Linked DNA regions of Homo sapiens: all the other regions are linked to region 5. Evidence: promoter capture Hi-C in 16 types of primary human blood cells and fetal thymus (Javierre and others, 2016). All regions are on one chromosome and are shown on one strand. The core of a region is centred on a gene start or on the middle of the fragment in contact, and the rest is flanking DNA. Distances in the headings are between cores, read along the strand shown. Region 1 overlaps TUBB6 (tubulin beta 6 class V). Region 2 overlaps AFG3L2 (AFG3 like matrix AAA peptidase subunit 2). Region 3 has its middle 21 kb from the start of TUBB6. Region 4 overlaps AFG3L2 (AFG3 like matrix AAA peptidase subunit 2). Region 5 holds the start of SPIRE1 (spire type actin nucleation factor 1). Region 6 has its middle 22 kb from the start of SEH1L. Region 7 has its middle 1.8 kb from the start of TUBB6.

Region 1 (2,774 bases), core at 65-2,564, 330 kb before region 5:
GAGGCGCTCTATGACATCTGCTTCCGCACTCTGAAGCTGACAACGCCCACCTACGGGGACCTCAACCACCTGGTGTCCGCCACCATGAGTGGGGTCACCACCTCGCTGCGCTTCCCGGGCCAGCTCAATGCTGACCTGCGCAAGCTGGCGGTGAACATGGTGCCCTTCCCGCGCCTGCACTTCTTCATGCCTGGCTTCGCGCCGCTCACCAGCCGCGGCAGCCAGCAGTACCGGGCCCTGACCGTGCCCGAGCTCACCCAGCAGATGTTCGACGCCAGGAACATGATGGCCGCCTGCGATCCGCGCCATGGCCGCTACCTGACCGTGGCCACCGTGTTCCGCGGGCCCATGTCCATGAAGGAGGTGGACGAGCAGATGCTGGCCATCCAGAGTAAGAACAGCAGCTACTTCGTGGAGTGGATTCCCAACAACGTGAAGGTGGCCGTGTGCGACATCCCGCCCCGCGGCCTGAAGATGGCCTCCACCTTCATCGGCAACAGCACGGCCATCCAGGAGCTGTTCAAGCGCATCTCCGAGCAGTTCTCAGCCATGTTCCGGCGCAAGGCCTTCCTGCACTGGTTCACGGGTGAGGGCATGGATGAAATGGAGTTCACCGAGGCGGAGAGCAACATGAACGACCTGGTATCCGAGTACCAGCAGTACCAGGATGCCACCGCCAATGACGGGGAGGAAGCTTTTGAGGATGAGGAAGAGGAGATCGATGGATAGTCGGAATAGAGCCGCCCCAACTCAGATCCTACAACACGCAAGTTCCTTCTTGAACCCTGGTGCCTCCTACCCTATGGCCCTGAATGGTGCACTGGTTTAATTGTGTTGGTGTCGGCCCCTCACAAATGCAGCCAAGTCATGTAATTAGTCATCTGGAACAAAGACTAAAAACAGCAGAGAATTGCGGGTTCTACCCAGTCAGAAGATCACACCATGGAGACTTTCTACTAGAGGACTTGAAAGAGAACTGAGGGGCCACAAAATAAACTTCACCTTCCATTAAGTGTTCAAGCATGTCTGCAAATTAGGAGGGAGTTAGAAACAGTCTTTTTCATCCTTTGTGATGAAGCCTGAAATTGTGCCGTGTTGCCTTATATGAATATGCAGTATGGGACTTTGAAATAATGATTCATAATAAAATACTAAACGTGTGTCTTCATCTCTCTAGCCATGTGCATAAATGACGTAAGTTACTTTGTATGGTTACAATGGCTACTTGGGTCACTGGTCTCTCCCTGGGGTGAACTCCTCCCCACTTCAGTTCACGAAAACAACAGAGGAAAGGGCTCTTCTTTAAATGGAGGCTTTAAGGGGGGCAGCCAAAACTGTTGCTAGCTGGAAGGCAATGCAGTACAGACAAAAGCCCCTCCTCCATCCGCAGCCACCTTTTAGACTCCCACAGGATCTTGCATTTTCCCAAGTCAGGTCCTGGGCTAGGGTTCCCCAACCTTGTAGGGGAACAAACAGCCCCAAAAGGCCTCCGGACAAAGCCAGGGGTGCTGGGTGGGAGCTGGGGTGCCAACAGCCAGCCCTGCATGGAAGGGATGGGCCCTTTTCTGCTGTGACCCATCACACCTGATGGCTTCTACCACCGGCCACACCTTTGGAGTTTCCAAAGATAAACTCCACGGGGCACGCACAGTAGCCCTGCTAGTGCCTGGTACAGACCTCACTGTTGACAATATTTTTGCTTTACTTCTTCCTGCCCTCTTGAAGCTGTGAACGTGGGACTTGCTCTAGCCATAAGAATGGGCATAGTGTGTCACCCCCGAGTGGAAGCGTCATGTGCCAGTGCCAGCCCTCCTGCTCTGCCTCCCACGTGGGCAGCCCCCCCGATCCCTCCTGTCCACCCGTCCAGGTTCCTGAGTGACCATCCTGGGCAGAGCCCACTCTGACCTGTGTTGGACAGGGAATAAGAGACAGACAAAGCTTTGTCATTCGGGACCACTTAGGGTTAGGGTTCCCCACAGTACAACCACAACACCACCCTTGGTCTGTGATCCCAGGCCTTACATTGACTAGCTGTATTTATTTTGTGTTAAGCCCCAGCCTTGGGCAGATGGAAAGTTCATCACTAAACACAGCAGCATGGCTTGAGGTGATCACAGATCTTTTTGCAGAAATCTGAACTATTCTGAGACCACAGTAAAAATAAATCTTACCAGCTCACCACCCACATCTGTCCTGAAAACATGTTCTGTGTGACCGTGGAAAGATCTATGCATGAGCAGGCCCCACAAGATGGTGGCACAGGGAGCCACGGTTGCTCCTAGCACAGAGGGCCACTTGCACAGGTTGAGCAGCCATCCAGGGCCCAGAGCTTAAGGTTGCTCACCTCACCAGAAACATGGGTGTTGTCGGTGCTATCTGGCTTTGTCACTCTTACTGTATCAAGCCTGACAGACAGTGGGCCCCACTCTCGTCCCCCGGGAGGTCTCACAGCCAAGGCCTGTGAGAGGGCAGCCCACGCTGGCTCCATGCCTTGCAGTGGTTGGATAAGGAGTAGAGAGCGTCTCCTAATCGTCTACTGCCTGTATGGTAAAAAGCACACCCAGCACCCTCACAACTGTGTGAGCCTCAGCCTGGAAACAATGCTTCATTGGGCACCTCCCAAAAACACCCTATGAGGAAAGGAAGTGGCCAGTGTGGCAATGCCTGCAGGTGCAAAGGTCCAGCAGGGGGCGCCTGTTCTCCTGGCATGCTGAGCTGTGGAGTCCAAACAGCTGCTTCCACGGCCTGCCGGGGACAGGTGGGTATCTCAGGCT
Region 2 (2,700 bases), core at 163-2,662, 310 kb before region 5:
AGTCCTTTGTCCTGTATATGTACTGCATGTATTTTTGGAGGGCGTGGCTTGCCTTTTTATTTTCTTAACTGTCTTTCAAAGAAAGAGAGTTTGAAATTTTGATGAGATCCCACCTATCAACGTTTTCTTTTGTGGCTCATGCTTTTTGTGTCCCAAGAAATTTTTGCATGGTCAAGGCCACAGAGATTTTTCCCTGTATTTTCTCCTAGAAGTTTGATGGTTTTAGTTCTTATGACCTGTTTCAAATAATTTTTTGCATATGATGCAAGGGTTAACGTTCACCATTTTTCCTGTGAATACTCTGTTGCCAGAACCACCTGTAGATAAGACAATTCCTCCCCCTTGAATTATCCTGGTACCTCTGTGAACCAAAAGTTTGTGGTTCACTTTCCGGGCTCCATTCCACCCCACTGGCCTGCGTGCCAGTCCTCTTACCAGCACTACACTCTCATCACTGTAGCTGCACAGTCTTAATACTGGGATGAGTAACTTACTGTTTTGGCTACTCTTACTCATTTGTATTTCCATATCGGTTTTAGATTCAGCTTCTCAATTTCCACAAAAAAAAAAAATCTGCTATAATTACCAGAGATTGCACTGAAATTATCAATTAGTTTTGGGAGAACTGATGTAACACTCCATGAGCAAAGTCCACCTCTATTTTTATTTAGGGCTTGTTATCAATGTGCATGTCCTACAAATATTTTCTTAAATTTATTCCTCCATATTTCGAGTTTTTAGATGCTACTGAAATTGCTAATGAAATTGAATTTTTAAAATTTCATTTTCCAATTGTTTATTGCTAATACACAGAAATACAATTGGTCTTTGTATACTGACCTTGAATTCTTCAACCTTGCTAACTTTACTTATTAGTTCTAGTGGGTTCTCTGTGGGTTCCTTAGGATGTTTTATGGACACTCTAATGTTGTCTTCTCTATGGTTCCCTTGCTTCAGGGGACCCCCACACCCCTGGCCCGCCTCAATTCCCAGCAGCCCTGATACCCATCGCAAGGCAGGGAGGCAGCTGCTTTCTGTCATCTGTGCTGCAGCAGTTCGGGAAATGCCTCAGTTGAAAAGCAAAAAACTTAAAAATCTCACATGGTTCCCCCGTCTTTCAGGGGTAGATTTCTCTTTGGTCTCTGCTTACCCTTTTGCCAGGTTCTCTGGGATTGCCACTGTGCATGTGTAGTTTAGTTGTCGGCCTGAGATTTGGGCAGTTCCTGCTCAGATTCGGGCCTCACCACTTGGTAGTTTTCTTGCTTCTGGGATTTTCCTGTTAAATTTCCAGTATTCTTTAAGTCCTGGACTATCTCCTCTACCACCTCAGGATAATAAAGACTATGTCTCATACCACTGTAGTGTGGAGATTATGAAAAACCCTTTGGCAAGAAAGCCACAGGCTCCCAGTTCAAACCCACTGCAACTGCTGCTTTATAGGAGCAAACTCTCCAGCTCTCGCCTGCTTTTGGACACTCTGTGGTCCCTTTAAATAATTTTCTGTCCAAATTTTATATTTATCTATGGGACGGTTTGTGCAACTATGGTTACCAGAAGTTACCAGAAGTTTTGGCTAAAGCCTTGTTTCTTTCTCCTTTGCAGGAGTGTAGCTTGCTTCTTGAGTGACTGCAGCGAGCATCTGCTCACCCATGCACTGGCTGCCTAGTGCAGCTACCCTGCTTCACCTTTAAAAGCGGGTCTGCGTGCTCCAGATACCAGCCGGCAACCGCATGGCCTGCTTCGTGGTATGCCACAGTCTTCTTCTCCTCAGGCTGCAGAACCTGCGTTTTCTTCTCTAAGCCTAACAAAATAACAACAAAAAAACCCAAGCCATTGTTACAGTGACACTGACATTAAAAGACAGTTATACAGTGCTATACATTGCCTTACCTAAAATGGGGTTTGGAGACTGAGCTGCCTATCACAATCCAAAAATTCCTAATCAAGGCCAGGCGCAGTGGCTCATGCCTGTAATCCCAGCACTTTGGGAGGCTGAGGTGGTCCAATCACTTGAGGTGAGGAGTTCGAGACCAGCCTGGCCAACATGGTGAAACCCCGTCTCTACTAAAAATACAAAATTAGCCAGGCGTCGTGGTGAGCGCCTGTACTCCCAGCTGCTAGGGAGGCTGGGGCAGGAGAATCACTTGAACCCAGGAGGCGGAGGTTGCAGTGAACTGAGATCATGCCGCTGCACTCCAGCCTGGGCTACAGAGTAAGAATCCGTCTCAAAAAAAAAAAAAATTAAATTAAGTTAAAAATTTTTTTAAAAAATTAAATAGAATTCCCAATCAAGGTCAGAATAAAAGCAAAAGGTCAGGTTCAAAATACAACTACAGCAAAAATGCACTCACTCCCCCATCCCCAGGCCTGCTTTCACCCTAACTCTCTCACTTTTAAGCCACACACCCTGTGTTTTGGGAAACAAATAGAAATGTAAAATAAAATTCAGCATTAAGGTCATTTTAAAACACGCAAAATTACAGAAACCAAAACTCTGGAAAGGTCCTCATTGCATAGTCTAGGTATTCAGAATTATCAAATACTGGGCACGCGAAGATGGCTGCCATAAGACACTACCTGCTGTCTGTTCTGCTGGAAGGCAGAAGAGAGTCTGAGAAAGCAGGCAGCCAGTTCAACACCCGGAGCTACCTAGGTGGAGCCAGCCAGGCTGATGCTGGCGCACCCTCACCTAACCAGCCG
Region 3 (2,750 bases), core at 44-2,543, 370 kb before region 5:
TGGGAGGATCACTTGAGCCCAGGAGATGGAGGCCAGCCTAGGCAACATAGCAAAACCCCCATCTCTAAATAAAAATAAAAATAAAGAGCTTGGAGCCTGGATGGGGCTGGGCATATAGCAAGCACAGATGCTTGGGAAGTACACCCTTTAATTTTCACACTAAGGAGAAAGAAAGGGCTAAGAGTAGTTCAATACAGTATCTTCAAAAGGTTTGACCATTTATTTGCCCATTTTTTCCTGAAAAGAGTGAATGAAAACATTTACTATAACTCAGATACTAATACACCTTTTTGTTTCTTTTCTTTAAGAAACAGGCACAGTTGTTAAGATCTGTTTCAGATGAAGTTGGGTGATGGATACATGGGCTTTCATTAGTCTCTGATTTGGGTATGTTTTTAATGTTCTATAATGAAAAGGGTTTTATTGATTGATTTCTTTTCTTTTCTTTTTTTTTTTTTTTTGAGACAGAGTCTCGCTCTATCCCCCAGGCTGGAGTGCAGTGGTATGGAGTACAGGGGCGTGATCTCGGCTCACTGCAACCTCCGCCTCCCGGGTTCAAGCGATTCTCATGCCTCAGCCTCCCAAGTAGCTGGGATTACAGGCACCTGCCACCAGGCCTGGTTAATTTTTGTATTTTTAGTAGAGATGGGGTTTCACCATGTTGGCCAGGCTGATCTCAAACTCCTGACTTCAGGTGATTCACCCACCTCGGCCTCCTGAAGTGCTGGGATTACAGGCAGGAGCAACCGCGCCCGGCCAATTGATTGATTTTTTTTAAATGCTTCCTCCCTCCCAGGGAACTGTGAATGAAGCTCTTCTTTTAAATGTATATATTTCAGAGATGGGGATCTCACTGTGATGCCCAGGCTGGTCTTGAACTCCTGGCCTCAGCTGGTCTTGAACTCCTGGCCTCAAGTAATCCTCCTACCTCGGCCTCCCAAAGTGCTAGATGACAGGCATGATCCCGGCCAAGCCCTTCCTTTAACCACAGCTCTGGAGACTGTCACTTGGACGACCAGGGCTGCCAGGGTTTCCGGAGGGCACGGCCTCCTGACTGCTCAGGGCTTCCTCAAGGTGAGCTCAAGACCCGCAGGGCTTCCCTATGGCAAGCCGTCGAGGCTTTCTTTGGATGCAGGTGGCCGCAGAGCGCTCATGCGGCGTCGGTGCTGGCAGCCAGGTGAGCTGCGCCAGCTCAGCCCGAATGAGCGGTGTCAGGCTATGCACCGTGCTCCCGCCCGCCCTGCGCCCAGACCTCCGCCTGCCCTGGAGGTGAAGGACGCGGGCTCCCCACGCTCCCCCGAGTGATGGTGCAGAGGCGTACTCCCTCTCGGGGTCCCCACTCCACATTCCGGCGTCCTCGGAACAGCCGGCACAGGCAGGGCGGGCGTCAGCTGTCCGGTCGCACCTCCCTGCAGGGGCATTCCTTGGCCTGCTGCTGCCTGCCAGGCTGACCCAGGCGCAGGCGCTCAGGTAAAGGCAGTGGCCAGCCCAAGCTGCCGACCCAGCCGCTCCTCCCAGCAGAGGCCAGGTGAGGAGGCGAGGATGGTGGGGGTCGCCCAGGGAGAAAAATCTCATCCGACAAGGAAAGCCTGGTGACCCCCTGTCTGCCTGGGCAGAACTCCCCTCCCAGGAATGAGCTTTGGACAACGTGGTTCCTCCCGTTGAATCAGGTTCTGACCGAGTCCGCTGCAGCTGCAGGCGGGGGCGCCCTGCCGAGCAGATACCCAGCGGAGCTCCGGGGCCCCGTTTCTACTGTAAGCAGCTGGGGGCCAAATGTGCGCCCGGGCACGTCTCTTGGCCTCTCCCAGACTCGGCACCCTCATCTGTAAGAACGTGAACGATGTCCGCCCTGGACAGGACTGCGGTCGCGAGAGGTGCCCGGGCCAGGCAAGGGACACAGCGCGGATCTGCTGGTTTCCCCCTTGATTCCATGCGTGGGCGTGAAGCGTATTCTTGGGAGTCAGGCACAAATGTGACTTAGTAAGGAAGGGTGAGCGTTGCTGGGATGGGTGGGGAAAAATGTTTTCTGCATCACGGGGCCAGCTGGAGCGGGGAGTGGCCACCGCAGGATTCCTGGGTGCAGCTGAGACAGCTGGGGCGGGGCGTGCTGGGCTCACACTGAGTTCAACTCTCCAAATAGCCCTCGCGCCACTGTCCAGAACAGACGATAAGAATTTCACAGGACTTTCGTCTGGAAGTTTGCGGTTGACAATGCGTTTTTACCTACATGATCACAGTAACTTTCCCAGCAAGGCTGTTAGCTAAAGAAGGTGCCCTCCCCGCCCTGGAGCCTGAGAGAGGACGAGCTGCAGCCTTGTCCAAGAGAAAGGCCCGGGGGACCCAGCCATCCACCTCCCTGCCCACCACCACCCTTCCTTCCAAGGAGCACGCAAGACCAAGCCTAGGACTCGCTACAAAGCTCGGTTCCTAACTAGACCGGCGGGGACTGACTAGGAATGGAATCCAGGCAAACACCTGGCCGATCATAATCAGGTGCAAACCATTCTGATTCTATTTTTTAATGCCATTCTAATTTATAATATGTTAAACTCTGAGAAAAGCCTAGAGAGAGCCACTTTGCTAAGGCGTGCATTATTCAATTTTTCCTTATTCCAGTCATAATATTCTGGGTCCTCCTCTCATAATATTCTGGGTGCCTCCTGCAAGGCAAGCTTTCTGCCGTCCTAGTCTCTCCATTCACAATCACTCGCTTAGGGCATTGGCATAGAAAGTAACACACTGAGTCTTAT
Region 4 (2,762 bases), core at 120-2,619, 290 kb before region 5:
CAGTGGTACAATCATAGCTCACTGCAGCCTCAACTTCTCTGGGCACAAGAGATCCTCCCACCTCAGCTTCCTGAGTAGCTGGGACTAAGAATGCAAGCCACCACAGATGGCCAATTTTTTTACATTTCTTTGTAGAGATGGGGTCTCCCTACATTCCCCAGGCTGGTCTCGAACTCCTAGATTCAAGTGATCCTCCCACCTCAGCCTCCCAAAGTGCACAGATTACAGGTGTGAGCCACCACGGCCAGCCTACATAGGATTCTTAGTAACACTGTTAAAACACCACATCCCAAGGACTGTAACTGGTTTAGGAGCATGAGCGCTCTGGGATGTGCTTATTTCTAACTGCTTGCTTTGTCAGCAAGTCTGGAAGGCAAGAATGACAAACAAAAAGCAAAGGAGCCCCAGAGCAATCCCAGAGGGGCTGGAATCGGGGAGCAACTGTTCTTAAAGGCAGTCTCTGTCAGAGAGGAATGACTGGCACTGCTCCACCCCACAGACACCCGCTGGGGAGACAGCAGACTAATGCCAAAGAGCCAGAGGGTCAGGAGGAGCTGCAGCTATGGAGAAGCCACCTCGAGGACCTGCCATCCCAATCAGAAGGACGGCTGCAGCCCAGTCCACACGCAATGACCACTGCTTCTGAGCAGCTTCTGAGTGGGAGTCCCCACTACATCTGAGAATTACACATATAAGATCCTCACTTTCATAAGATAAACATGTTTCAAAAATCCAACTAGATAAAAGGACTCTGGAAGATGGTGGCATAAGGAAGCACCAGGAACCCATCTCCCTACGCACAGGACAATGGTACAGGCAGGATCTGTCCGATGTAAGCATTTTGGAATTCTGGAGTCCACTGAAGGTTTCCAACTTCCAGGGGAAACATAAACTGAAGTTAATCTCAGTCAACTTCAGCTCTTAGCACAGTAGCAGCTGCTCATTTGAGTAGATAACCATTTCTTACATCCTTACCTTCCTGCACAACCTTCAGAACGAATTCAAATTCTTTACACTACCTCAGTAAGTATTCATGTCGTCTTACTTTATCCATTTCATGGATGAAAACCCAAGTATTAAGAGGTTAAGGGGTTTCCCCAAGGCTACACAGCAGGCCTAATTCTGGTGTCTATCACTACACTGCATCAATTCTTTTTTTTTTTTTTTTTTTTTGAGATGGAGTCTCGCTCTGTCGCCCAGGCTGGAGTGCAGTGGTGCAATCTCGGCTCACTGCAAGCTCCGCCTCCCGGGTTCACGCCATTCTCCTGCCTCAGACTCCCAAATAGCTGGGACTACAGGCACGTGCCACCACACCCGGCTAATTTTTTGTATTTTTTAGTAGATTCGGGGGTTTCACCATGTTAGCCAGGATGGTCTCAATCTCCTGACCTCGTGATTCACCCGCCTCGGCCTCCCAAAGTGCTGGGATTACAGGCGTGACCCACTACGCCCGGCCACTGCATCAATTCTAAGACACACATTTTTCATATTTTAACATCAGAAATGGAGATCCATTTTACAATTGATGGCATGTCATAATTTCATCAGCATCTTATTAGATTTGTCTTAGCAACTTATAAAATACCATGTGTCTTACAATCAATAGCATCTTAAATATGCTGAAATATGGTCTTACTTATTTCCCATTGGTTGTGGTGAATATAGTCACACATGGGCAAGCCCAGCAGACAGTAACAAAGGCTGCTCCGCAGACAGAGAAATGGCAGGGACCACGCACCCACTTGGCCCTCCCTTAGAGCCCCATCTGCTCTGACAACACACGCTGATTAGCTGCCACGCCCACAGGTGACTAAATGTAGTAAAGACCCACAGAGGGCCCAAAGAGGCTGGCACACAACAGCACAAAGCAGGGGCAGACGCTGGCACATGATAGCACAGAGCAGGGGCAGAGGCTGGCACACGACAGCACAGAGCAGGGGCAGCTGAGGGCACGTGAGAAAAGGGCGCAAGCAGAGGACTGCCAAGACCATGGTCAGAAGCAGTGGTTCCAAAACCCAGTTCTGGGAGGTAGTGAAATAAAAGAATTTGTGGGTAAATTTGAGGACACCAGGTCAAAACACGGGTTCTCTAGTTGCAGTACTTCTCAGCATTAGAAAAATCTGAGTGAAAATAACAATTTTACAATGGACGAGCCAGGTTAACCTGCTGACTGTCACTTCTTTGGTCTAATCTGATGAATTTCACCTTTGAACCACAACAGCCACCAATCCCATAAAATACTTACTACTCCTTTTGAAAGATAGTTATTGACAAAGTCCTTCCAAGTGATTTCTCTCCCGGATCTCTTGAGCAGCAAGTAAAACATGACTCCACCCCAGAACAGAGCAGTCCAGAGGAAGAACATCCTGAAATCCTTGTCGTCCCATGGAATGTCACCCTGGGCAGAGAGGGAGACAGCTTCTGTGAAGAATGAAATTCCACAATACGATCTATGCTCTGTGAGACACAAATCCCTCCAACACTACACTAATGCCTCCCAACCTTCTCTGGGCCACCATCATAACCTCAAAATTCACACAATGTATAGCATCAAACCTTCTGAAACCTGGACCACCAGTGAGAATCATCTTTCTTGCCACCTCGTTTTCCACCGCCACCACCTCCTCCTCCAGAAGAGCGTGTGGTAGCAGCTGGCTTTGATTCTGTTCATAAACAAAGAGCACACACAGAAGCACGGCAAGGTTTTAGCTCTCTCAGCAATGTCTTCATGTATACGGTTTAATAAAAGACTCATTGCAGAA
Region 5 (2,830 bases), core at 22-2,521:
CAACTTTTCACTTTACAAGCCTGTTTTTCATCACAACAAATTTTCACATACAGGAATGCAATCAGTATTTTCTAACGTCCAGGAGCCAAAAATCACTATTTAGTCTATTTTTCCATTTCTCCCCAAAGAGCAGAATTCTCACGGTTCAGAATCATCTTTACATTTCCGAACCGAGGAAAGGCTGTCTAATGTGGAATACTGCTAGTTTCCCGTGAGGAGTGCGGTGTTTCCGACAGCGGCACTGAGGATCCGTGCGGAGCCCCCGCGTGAAGCCTGCGATGCCCTCCCCACCCCGTGAACCCGGCCGTGTGTCAGCAGCCACGGCGTGAGGCGCACAGGCCGCTGGCCCGGAGCAGGGCCCAGCCCACCGCTCCCAAACGCGCCGCGGGCAGCTGTCCCGCGGGCAGCACAATGACGAGCGCCCCGCGGCCCGCAGGCCCAGGCCCACCCAAACGTCCTCCGCACAGCGGATTTGCGCCGTCGCCCGCCACGAGGCTCTGACCTCCGAGGGGCCCCGGCCAGCCACGGCCTGACGCCGTCCTCCCCTGCGGGTCCCCGCCGGATCCTCCCGGGGGTCTCCCGTGGCAAAATGGGGGGGGACGGCGGGGGCGGAAGGGCCGGGGACGCTGAGGGTAAGGCGGCCCAGCCGCGGGTGTTCCAAGAACTACGAGGGAAAGGGGCCCGGCGGCCTCACCCGCAACTGGGGGCGGCTCTCCCGCGTCGTCGGCCGCGGGCGCCAGGGTGACGGCGCCGTCCCTCCAGACGCGGATCTGCGCGGCCGAGCGCACACGGTGGCGGGGCTGGCGGCGGCGGGCGGCGGCGCGCAGGGAACCGCAGCACTGGTAGCACACGGCCCACGCCTGCTCCTCGTTGATGGGCTGGTTGTACAGCCGCAGGATCTCCTCCAGGCTCAGCGCGTCCCGGGAGCCCCCGGCCGCGCCGCCGGCTGCCCCGGGCTCCCGCGGCCCCTCGCCGCCCACTGCCTCAGTCCGCGGCTCCCCGCCGCCCGCCGGGCCAGCCGCCTGAGCCATCCCGCGGGTGGGCGCTGCGCTCGGCAGTCGCGCCGTGTGCCGGCGTCTCCTCAGCTCCGGAGCATCGTCGTCGCGCGCCGCCGCCTCACCATCCCCGGAACCGCCGCCGCCCAACGCGGCCGCGCGCGCCGCCGCCGGGACCAGGCGAGTGCCCGGGAGGCGTGGGCAAGAGGAGGGCGGCGAGGACACGGCTGCAGTCCCGGTCAGACAGCCGCCGGCCGGTAGCGACGCGATGGCGTCCGGCGCCCCGCCCCGCCCCGCCCCGCCTCGCGCCGTCCAGCGCCGCCCAGCGCCCGCCCCTTAGGGGGCCGCACGGGCCGGGGGATGCACGCTCTGGAGGTGAGGACCAGGCAGGAGGGCCTCGCCTCGAGGCGAGATGGCCGCACGGTCTCTAGCCCGCAGGGCTCTCAGAGTCGCAGGCGGTGACGCCCGGTCGGGGGGCCCGGTCGCAAGGGACACACAGCTGGGGGCGCAATGGTGAGGGCGGCGACGCACGGTCCGGAGGGGATGCGCGGCCGGGTAGGGCGTGCAGGGTTGTGGGGCGTGGGGGACACGCGGGGCCGGGCGCGCGGTCGGGGGGCGCAGGGGCAAGAGGGTGTCGCATTTATCAGGGAAGTCCCCGGCCGACTCTGGCGGGGAACTGGGCGCGCCAACCCGGGTCACCGCCCTGCACAGCGGGAGAAGTCACCCGCATTGACGTTCCCTAGGCGCTGGATCGCCGAAGGTCTGGTTGAAAACTTGAACCCGCCTGGAGCGGATGCCTAAGAAAATGCAGGCCCGCTGAAGCCTCCCCGCCGGGCCCTGGGCCCTGAAAGCCTCCGGCAGTTTCCCGTGACCCCGCGGCCGCTCTGCGCGTTTTCCGATTTCTTGCTGGTTGAATACCTCCCTCTCCACTCCCATCTTCAGGGTAAGCACCGTAAAGACGGGGATCTTTACGGGTTTTCCTCACTGACTTCTCCCAAAAGCTAAACCAGCGCCTGGAATATAAACATGTACATAATTTGCAGGTGTTAGTTTTAGCGTCCTTCCGGATTCATTTGTAACATTGGTCCCTTCCCTCACTAAGGTAATGTCTCAAGTACCACACTCATCAGAGCATGTGGAATGAATATCACAGTGGTAAAATTGAACTGAGGGCAATTAGCCGTAGAAAGAAAGAATTCCGCCCCCCCAACCTATTAAATATGCAATAAAACAGATAATTCTTAATCACCCATTGGTAGATTAATTTAATCGATAAAATTCCACTGAGGCTAGTCCTGTGTGAAAGCCCTACAGAGTGTTGAAAGCATCAACCAAATAGGCAATGTATATTAAGTTCCAGTAAACCTTTTACGGCAGTTTTATGTAAAATGTTAGAAATCACGCTCTCAACAATTGCATCTTGCGGTAGAAACTACAACAGTCTATTTAAATAACAACAGTCTATTAAAATGAGATACCATCTTACATACAGCTGGGAATGGGGAGGAGGGAGAAAAGCAACAGGACGAAAAGGAAAATTAAGAAATTGAAAGAGGGCCGTGCGCAGTGGCTTAGGCCTGTAATCCCAGCACTTTGGGAGGCTGAGGCGGGCAGATCACTGAGGTCAGGAGTTCGAGACCAGCCTGGCCAACATGGGGAAACCCTGTCTCTACTAAAAATACAAAGAAAATTAGCCGAGTGTGGTGACGCACGCTTGTAATCCCAGCTACCCGGGAGGCTGAGGCAGGAGAATCGCTTGAACCTGGGAGGTGGAAGTTGCAATGAGCCAAGATCACACCACTGCACTCCAGCCTGGGGGACAGAGCGAGAGTCTG
Region 6 (2,788 bases), core at 124-2,623, 270 kb after region 5:
TTCATGCAACTTTCTAAGAATTAAAATGTATTCATATAGAAAAATATCTGTCATTTATTTTTGTTGGATTCTAATTTATAATCATGAAAATCAATAATCTAATTTGAATTTACTTGCTCTTCTTACCATCATCTAAATCATTATTAAATGAAGCCAAGTGATATGCTTCTCTTCATCTCTAAGTGGAAATGCACATTCAATTTATTTTAAAACATTTTGCAAAGCAACATCACTTTCGGAAAACACTTAATAATTGCCTGGCAAATTATTCTCTACGGCCTAGTGCTATTCTTGTTGAATTCAAGAGCTCGATGCAGGAAAACCTCGGGGGACTGAATAAAGAGCATCCTCCTGTTCTAAAGACGGGCCAAAGGGAAAGAAGCCCAGATTCCACAATCTTTCTCCCAAAACTTGAACGTTCAATTAGCTAAGTTTAGCTGCCCTGGCCCTTCTTGTGCTAAGCTTGGTTTGTTCCCATCTCTCTGTTGCACTCAGGAGCTGAAGGTGCCCTTTTCCATGCAGCATAGACATAGTTGTGGAGGCACGGGGGAGACAGGGCACCCTGCTACGGGAGGGTCTGAGGACACAGTGCTGCCTGCAAATCCTGTGCTCAGCATGGCTCTTCCTAGTTCAGCACAGGAACTGCTTGCCCTTCTTCTGTGTCCCCAAACCTAGAGGAGATATTCAAAATATGTAAGGGCCAGGACAGTGAGGGCACTGATGAATCAGAAGAGATGCCCACCAGTAAGCTGAACCGGGACTTCCCAGCTAATGGTCAGCCCTGTTCAGACCCCTAAGCCCTAACCTGCCTCCTCAGCTCTCCATCCACCCCAGCCCCTTGAGAGTGTTTCTAGATACCAAAGAGTAGCCAAATGTGTCAGGAGACATGGCCTAGGGCAAGACATGCGGGAGCAGCATTCTGGTCTGGACAAATGACAGGGGAGGATGAGCCTCAAAGGAGGAAGGTAGGAGAGAGAGAGAAGTGCCAAAGAAATTAGAATTAAAAAGAGACAGGCTGGGCCGGGCGCGGTGGCTCAGGCCTGTAATCCCAGCACTTTGGGAAGCCAAGGCAGGCAGATCACGAGGTCAGGAGATGGAGACCATCCTGGCTAACACGGTGAAACCCGGTCTCTACTGAAAAAAATACAAAAAAATTAGCCAGGCGTGGTGGCAGGCACCTGTAGTCCCAGCTACTCGGGAGACTGAGGCAGGAGAATGGCGTGAACCTGGGAGGCGGAGCTTGCAGTCAGCCAAGATTGTGCCATTGCACTCCAGCCTGGACGACAGAGCAAGACTCTGTTTCAAAAAAAAAAAAAGTAGAGACAGGCTGGGCGCAGTGGCTCATGCCTGTAATCCCATCACTTTGGGAGGCTGAGGGGGGGACGGATCACTTGAGGTCAGGAGTTCAAGACCAGCCTGACCAACATGGAGAAACCCCGTCTCTACTAAAAATACAAAAATTAGCTAGTCCTGGTGGTGCACGCCTGTAATCCCAGCTATTTGGGAGACTAAGGTGGGAGAATTGCTTGAACCTGGGAGGCAGAGGCTCCAATGAGCCAAGATCATGCCACTGCACTCCAGCCTGGGCAACAGAGGGAGACTCTGTCTTAAAAAGAAAAAAGAAAAGAAAAAGGAGATAGACACACACCCCGCTGCTGGGATACATGCAGTTGGGCCAGGTCTGCAGGGACTCAGATGATCTGCTCTGGCTCTCGCCCAACAGCTTGGAATGGTCCAACTCATCTCACAGGCAGTGGGCAGTTAAAGGGTCTGCTGTTTTGCATGTTTGCTCCTGGGGCATGGTCCTCAGAACAGGCAGGAGTGCACAAGACAGGGTAAAGCCCCTCAGAGTGCCAAAGGGTGTGTTCATATGCCTGACAATATGCTCTTCTGGCAGGGAGATTGGCAGCTGCATATGCCTGGGAGGATTTGGGGAACCCAGGGACCTGCATGTCCAGCTAGAAATGCCACACTTCTTCCTCCCCTGTGTAGCCTTCTCGGGGTGGACATGTTTCTGTGTCCGCCGCCGTTAGAGAAACCTTATGCCATTTCACTGTTTGTGTTTTGTGAATCGCTGTCTATTGTGGCAGCAGCACACATACACATTTGCAGACAGATTCCAGAACAAGAGTGGTAATTGACCGTCCACAAAAGCACTTGGCTCCCAGGTTATAAGCCACATTTTCTATATTATTTATCTTTCTTCCAAGACAGAACTCCCGTGAGGAAAAGGCTGACTCACAACCATTTCTCCAGTCACCTCCCTTGAAGAACATTAGGGTAGGAAGCTTCCTGGTGAAAGGACCTTTGTTCACCTGGATGCAGTCTTTGGCTCTGTCTCCCCTAGACATTCCTAGGAAAAGGGGAGCACATCTAAGGAAAACAAAGCTGCAGTTTGGCTCATCAGTGGGACTTACCCTTGGAAGGTGATACCTAGCTGAAAGGCAACCTGGAGGTGATTTTTGTTCAGCAGTCAGCTGTGTATAATGGCAACTATTGAATAATGAGGCCTACGGCTAGTTGATTGATTAAAATGGAGCGTGGTGTAGTGCCTGGCCACTCAAAATACGATCCATGGATCAGTATCAGCACTACCTGAAGCTTATCAGAAAAAGAAGCACTTGGTCCCATCCAAGACCTATGTGTGAGAATCTGCATTTTAACAAGACCCCCAGGTGAGCTGTAGAAGTGAGCTGCAGTTTGAGAAGCCCTGGTGTGGTGTGCAAAGGTGCTGGACTTGGAGTTGGAAGATCTGGTTCCTTGTGCCAGCTCTGAGCCTTACTAACCA
Region 7 (2,700 bases), core at 152-2,651, 350 kb before region 5:
AGAGAAGCAAGACTGTGATCTAAGGCACAGAAGAGACGGGCAAGAGGAGGAGGAAAGTGAGCAGACAGGAGTGCACGGGTAATGTGGCTCGCCCAGAGCACCAAGTCATGAACGCCATCACTGCCTTCGACCCAGGTGAGGGGCCTTGTCCTTGCCTGCCCCCTCCCTACAGGGCCACTGGGATGAGCCCACAGCTCCTAGATGGCACCTCAGCCCCCCGGACCTCAGGAGTCCCTGCCCAGACCTCCCCAAACCTACTCCTAGGGCCCCTTCTTCCCGCAGGGTGGCCTGGGATGGCTGTGAGTGGCTGAGGACTGAAGTGTCCACAGGCATGTACTGGAGACCCATCTCGGCGTGGGACAGAATTGGAGGTGGGGAGAAAGGCGGGTGTTGAAAGTGAGGACTGCAGGCTGAGACCAGCCCCCGCACTTCCACGCCCTGATGCAAATCAACGAGGAGCCCAAGAAGTCTACCGATTTCTTTTTTATTTTATTTTATTTTATTTTTATTGAGACGCGGTCTCACTCTGTCACCCTGGCTGGAGTGCAGTGACATGATCACAGCTCACAGCAACCTCCACCTCCCAGGTTCAAGCAATCAATCCTCCCACCTCAGACTCTGGAGTAGCTGGGTACAGGCATGTACCACCATGCCTGGCTAATTTTTTAACTTTTTGTAGAGACAAGGGTCTCACTATAATGCCCAGGCTGGTCTCGAGGTCCTGGGCTCAAGCAATCCTGCCATGTCAGCTTTGGAAGTTTTGGGATTACAGGCGTGAACCACTGTGCCCGGCCTAGCCTGAGAATTCTAAACTGGAACCTGGCTTTCCAGATACCATGGTGTATTTTTTAAGGTAGGAGAAGAGAATGTGTCCTCTACGCTTTTTTAAGTTTGGTTTGCGGCTTGTGTGCATTTGGACACACCGCGTCACAAACAGCCTCGCCCAGGAGGAGTGAGGGCCACAGATCGGGAGGGTAGGGGGCCCAGAGCCTGGAGAGCCCCAGGCCGGGCTCACAGGTCAGGGTTTCACCTGCCGGCTCCCAGAAGGGAGTGGCCAACAGACACCAGGGAAGTCAGGGTTGGGATTCAAAGAGAGGCCAAGGCTGCAGAGAGACTGGGAGCCACTTTAGGAAAGAAACGTGAATTCAGGCTTTGCACAGCAGAACTGTCCCCATGTCCTGGGGAGGCCTTGGTTCATTCTGCGGGGAAATCCCTTGTGTCTTGCGGGGCCCCGCCTCTGATGAGAGGGAAGGGAGATAAGCTTTGCAGGGGGAAGGTTTCCTCCCGGTCTCCTCACTCTTCGAGCACTGAGTTTCTCCAGACAAAGCGCACTCCGCGGGCACCAATCCCTGCAGACAGCGCAGAGCGCACAGCGAGCAGGAGCCCAGAAACCAGCAGGTCGGCTTGTCCCTTGTCAAATCCAAGTGACAACGGACTTCCGGAAGCCACGCTGACACCTACTTTCTGGCTCGATCAGACCCCTGGACTTAAATTCCAGCCCAAGGGCTAGCACTGAAAGGGTGGCTATTTCAGCAAACGACCAAAGCTTCTAAAGTAGACACTTTCTTTTAAACCACTTGATGGCTGGATTTCTTAGAGAGAGAGACTAAAGCTGGAGGAAGGGTTCTTCCAGGGATGGCACAGGCCCTCCGCTCTCGGGCTCCCCACACTAGACTTCGGGCCGGCAGGATGGGTTAAGGTAGCACTCGTTGGAGTCAATAATTAAGCAATGGAAACAAACAGCCTAAATAAGGGTGTTGAGGACTCAGGAGAAGGTGGCTGATTAATCTCAGGCTCATAGTTTGAAATGGGAGCGCAGGGGCTGGGCTGTGGCCTCCTCATCTGCTCCCTGGGCGTGTGGCTGTGTAAAGAGGTGTGGGGACCCACAAGAAGGCCGAGGAGCAGCACTGGGGTGGAGAGAGCAGTGGGGAGGCGGGGACCCAAGGGTTAAAAAAAAAAATTCCTCAATTTGGAAACATTTGCAAAACTCCAGAAGAAAAACTTTTAAAAGTTCTCCACTCCCTTCCAAACGTACAAACATGCACACACACAATTAGGAATTTCCCAAAGTTTTCATCTGTCTAAAAAGAAAGTGCCAGTGCAAATTACAGAACATCGTCGCTTCCTCATGTGCGGCGTTTCTACGGGCCTGGGAGGGGACGCAGAGGCTACCCCGGTGGTCCCAGCCTGCAGCGTTCACGTGAGGAAACTTCCGCAAAAGCCCTGATGCATGCACATTCTGACTGCAGAGGCCAGAGCATCCCGCATTTTGGAGGCTGAAAGGCTCCCCTAGGATAACCTTTTCCGTTAACAGAGGAGTCCGCTGAAGCGCAGAGCTAACTGAAAACAGCTAGAATTAAAATCCAAGTCACCCGGCCGGCATCAGCAGTCATTCCTTTCCACCACACAAAACTGGCCAGGAAGACGGACTCTGGCGCGCCCTCCCAGGCCGAAGCGCATTTCTTCGCTAACGCGCGAGGAGTAGGCTGCATAGACCCGGCGCAGGAGGTGTTCATTTTCGGATCCAGCCCTGTAGTCACTTTAGCTAAACCCGGTTCCAAAGGGGTGGGAGTCGTCGGAGAGGAATGGCCTCTGTATCTCCGGAGACGGAAACACCAGGACGAAGAGGCCCTAAGAACGTGTGCCCGGGGTGCGACCGGGGGGTGGGGGGCAGGGGGCAGAGACCCTGAAAAGCTCCAC

The links. Contacts are between HindIII fragments. The CHiCAGO score rates a contact against its expected background, and 5 or more counts as called.
Region 1: a contact is called between a fragment that was not itself captured here and the fragment with the promoter of SPIRE1 in region 5, in 12 of 17 cell types (monocytes, erythroblasts, megakaryocytes and 9 more). The highest score is 13.7, in monocytes.
Region 2: a contact is called between a fragment that was not itself captured here and the fragment with the promoter of SPIRE1 in region 5, in 4 of 17 cell types (M2 macrophages, erythroblasts, M0 macrophages and 1 more). The highest score is 6.4, in M2 macrophages.
Region 3: a contact is called between a fragment that was not itself captured here and the fragment with the promoter of SPIRE1 in region 5, in 1 of 17 cell types (erythroblasts). The highest score is 6.0, in erythroblasts.
Region 4: a fragment that was not itself captured here is called in contact with the fragment with the promoter of SPIRE1 in region 5 in 12 of 17 cell types (M1 macrophages, M2 macrophages, M0 macrophages and 9 more); the score reaches 12.5 in M1 macrophages.
Region 6: a fragment that was not itself captured here is called in contact with the fragment with the promoter of SPIRE1 in region 5 in 1 of 17 cell types (M0 macrophages); the score reaches 6.0 in M0 macrophages.
Region 7: a contact is called between a fragment that was not itself captured here and the fragment with the promoter of SPIRE1 in region 5, in 1 of 17 cell types (monocytes). The highest score is 5.7, in monocytes.

The regions. Positions count from the first base shown.
Region 1 is chr18:12,325,402-12,328,175 of GRCh38, forward strand. It overlaps TUBB6 (tubulin beta 6 class V), which reads left to right. Exons shown (of 4, transcript NM_032525.3): 4 at 1-1,215. The coding sequence ends at 729. Among named protein-coding and RNA genes, the nearest start is that of TUBB6, 19 kb to the left of the region's middle. RefSeq lists an enhancer at 2,165-2,774 and a silencer at 2,549-2,774. The HindIII fragment of the contact is 1,244 bases long and covers 693-1,936 here.
Region 2 is chr18:12,342,447-12,345,146 of GRCh38, forward strand. AFG3L2 (AFG3 like matrix AAA peptidase subunit 2) reads right to left here. Exons shown (of 17, transcript NM_006796.3): 14 at 1,686-1,801. It overlaps LOC107985154 (a long non-coding RNA gene), which reads left to right. Exons shown (of 2, transcript XR_002958227.2): 2 at 1,603-1,877. Among named protein-coding and RNA genes, the nearest start is that of AFG3L2, 33 kb to the right of the region's middle. The HindIII fragment of the contact is 9,965 bases long and covers 1-2,700 here.
Region 3 is chr18:12,286,162-12,288,911 of GRCh38, forward strand. No RefSeq gene overlaps it. Among named protein-coding and RNA genes, the nearest start is that of TUBB6, 21 kb to the right of the region's middle. RefSeq lists enhancers at 867-1,862, 1,863-2,750. The HindIII fragment of the contact is 2,754 bases long and covers 1-2,670 here.
Region 4 is chr18:12,364,720-12,367,481 of GRCh38, forward strand. AFG3L2 (AFG3 like matrix AAA peptidase subunit 2) reads right to left here. Exons shown (of 17, transcript NM_006796.3): 4 at 2,557-2,663; 5 at 2,246-2,398. Among named protein-coding and RNA genes, the nearest start is that of AFG3L2, 11 kb to the right of the region's middle. The HindIII fragment of the contact is 2,906 bases long and covers 1-2,762 here.
Region 5 is chr18:12,656,836-12,659,665 of GRCh38, forward strand. SPIRE1 (spire type actin nucleation factor 1) reads right to left here and starts at 1,272. Exons shown (of 17, transcript NM_001128626.2): 1 at 695-1,272. The coding sequence starts at 1,031. It also overlaps a transcript of PSMG2 not described here. RefSeq lists silencers at 692-811, 1,002-1,421, 1,291-1,459, 1,462-1,531, 1,582-1,731. The HindIII fragment of the contact is 7,532 bases long and covers 1-2,830 here.
Region 6 is chr18:12,924,479-12,927,266 of GRCh38, forward strand. No RefSeq gene overlaps it. Among named protein-coding and RNA genes, the nearest start is that of SEH1L, 22 kb to the right of the region's middle. The HindIII fragment of the contact is 1,826 bases long and covers 461-2,286 here.
Region 7 is chr18:12,305,131-12,307,830 of GRCh38, forward strand. It overlaps a transcript of TUBB6 not described here. Among named protein-coding and RNA genes, the nearest start is that of TUBB6, 1.8 kb to the right of the region's middle. RefSeq lists a silencer at 2,597-2,700. The HindIII fragment of the contact is 285 bases long and covers 1,260-1,544 here.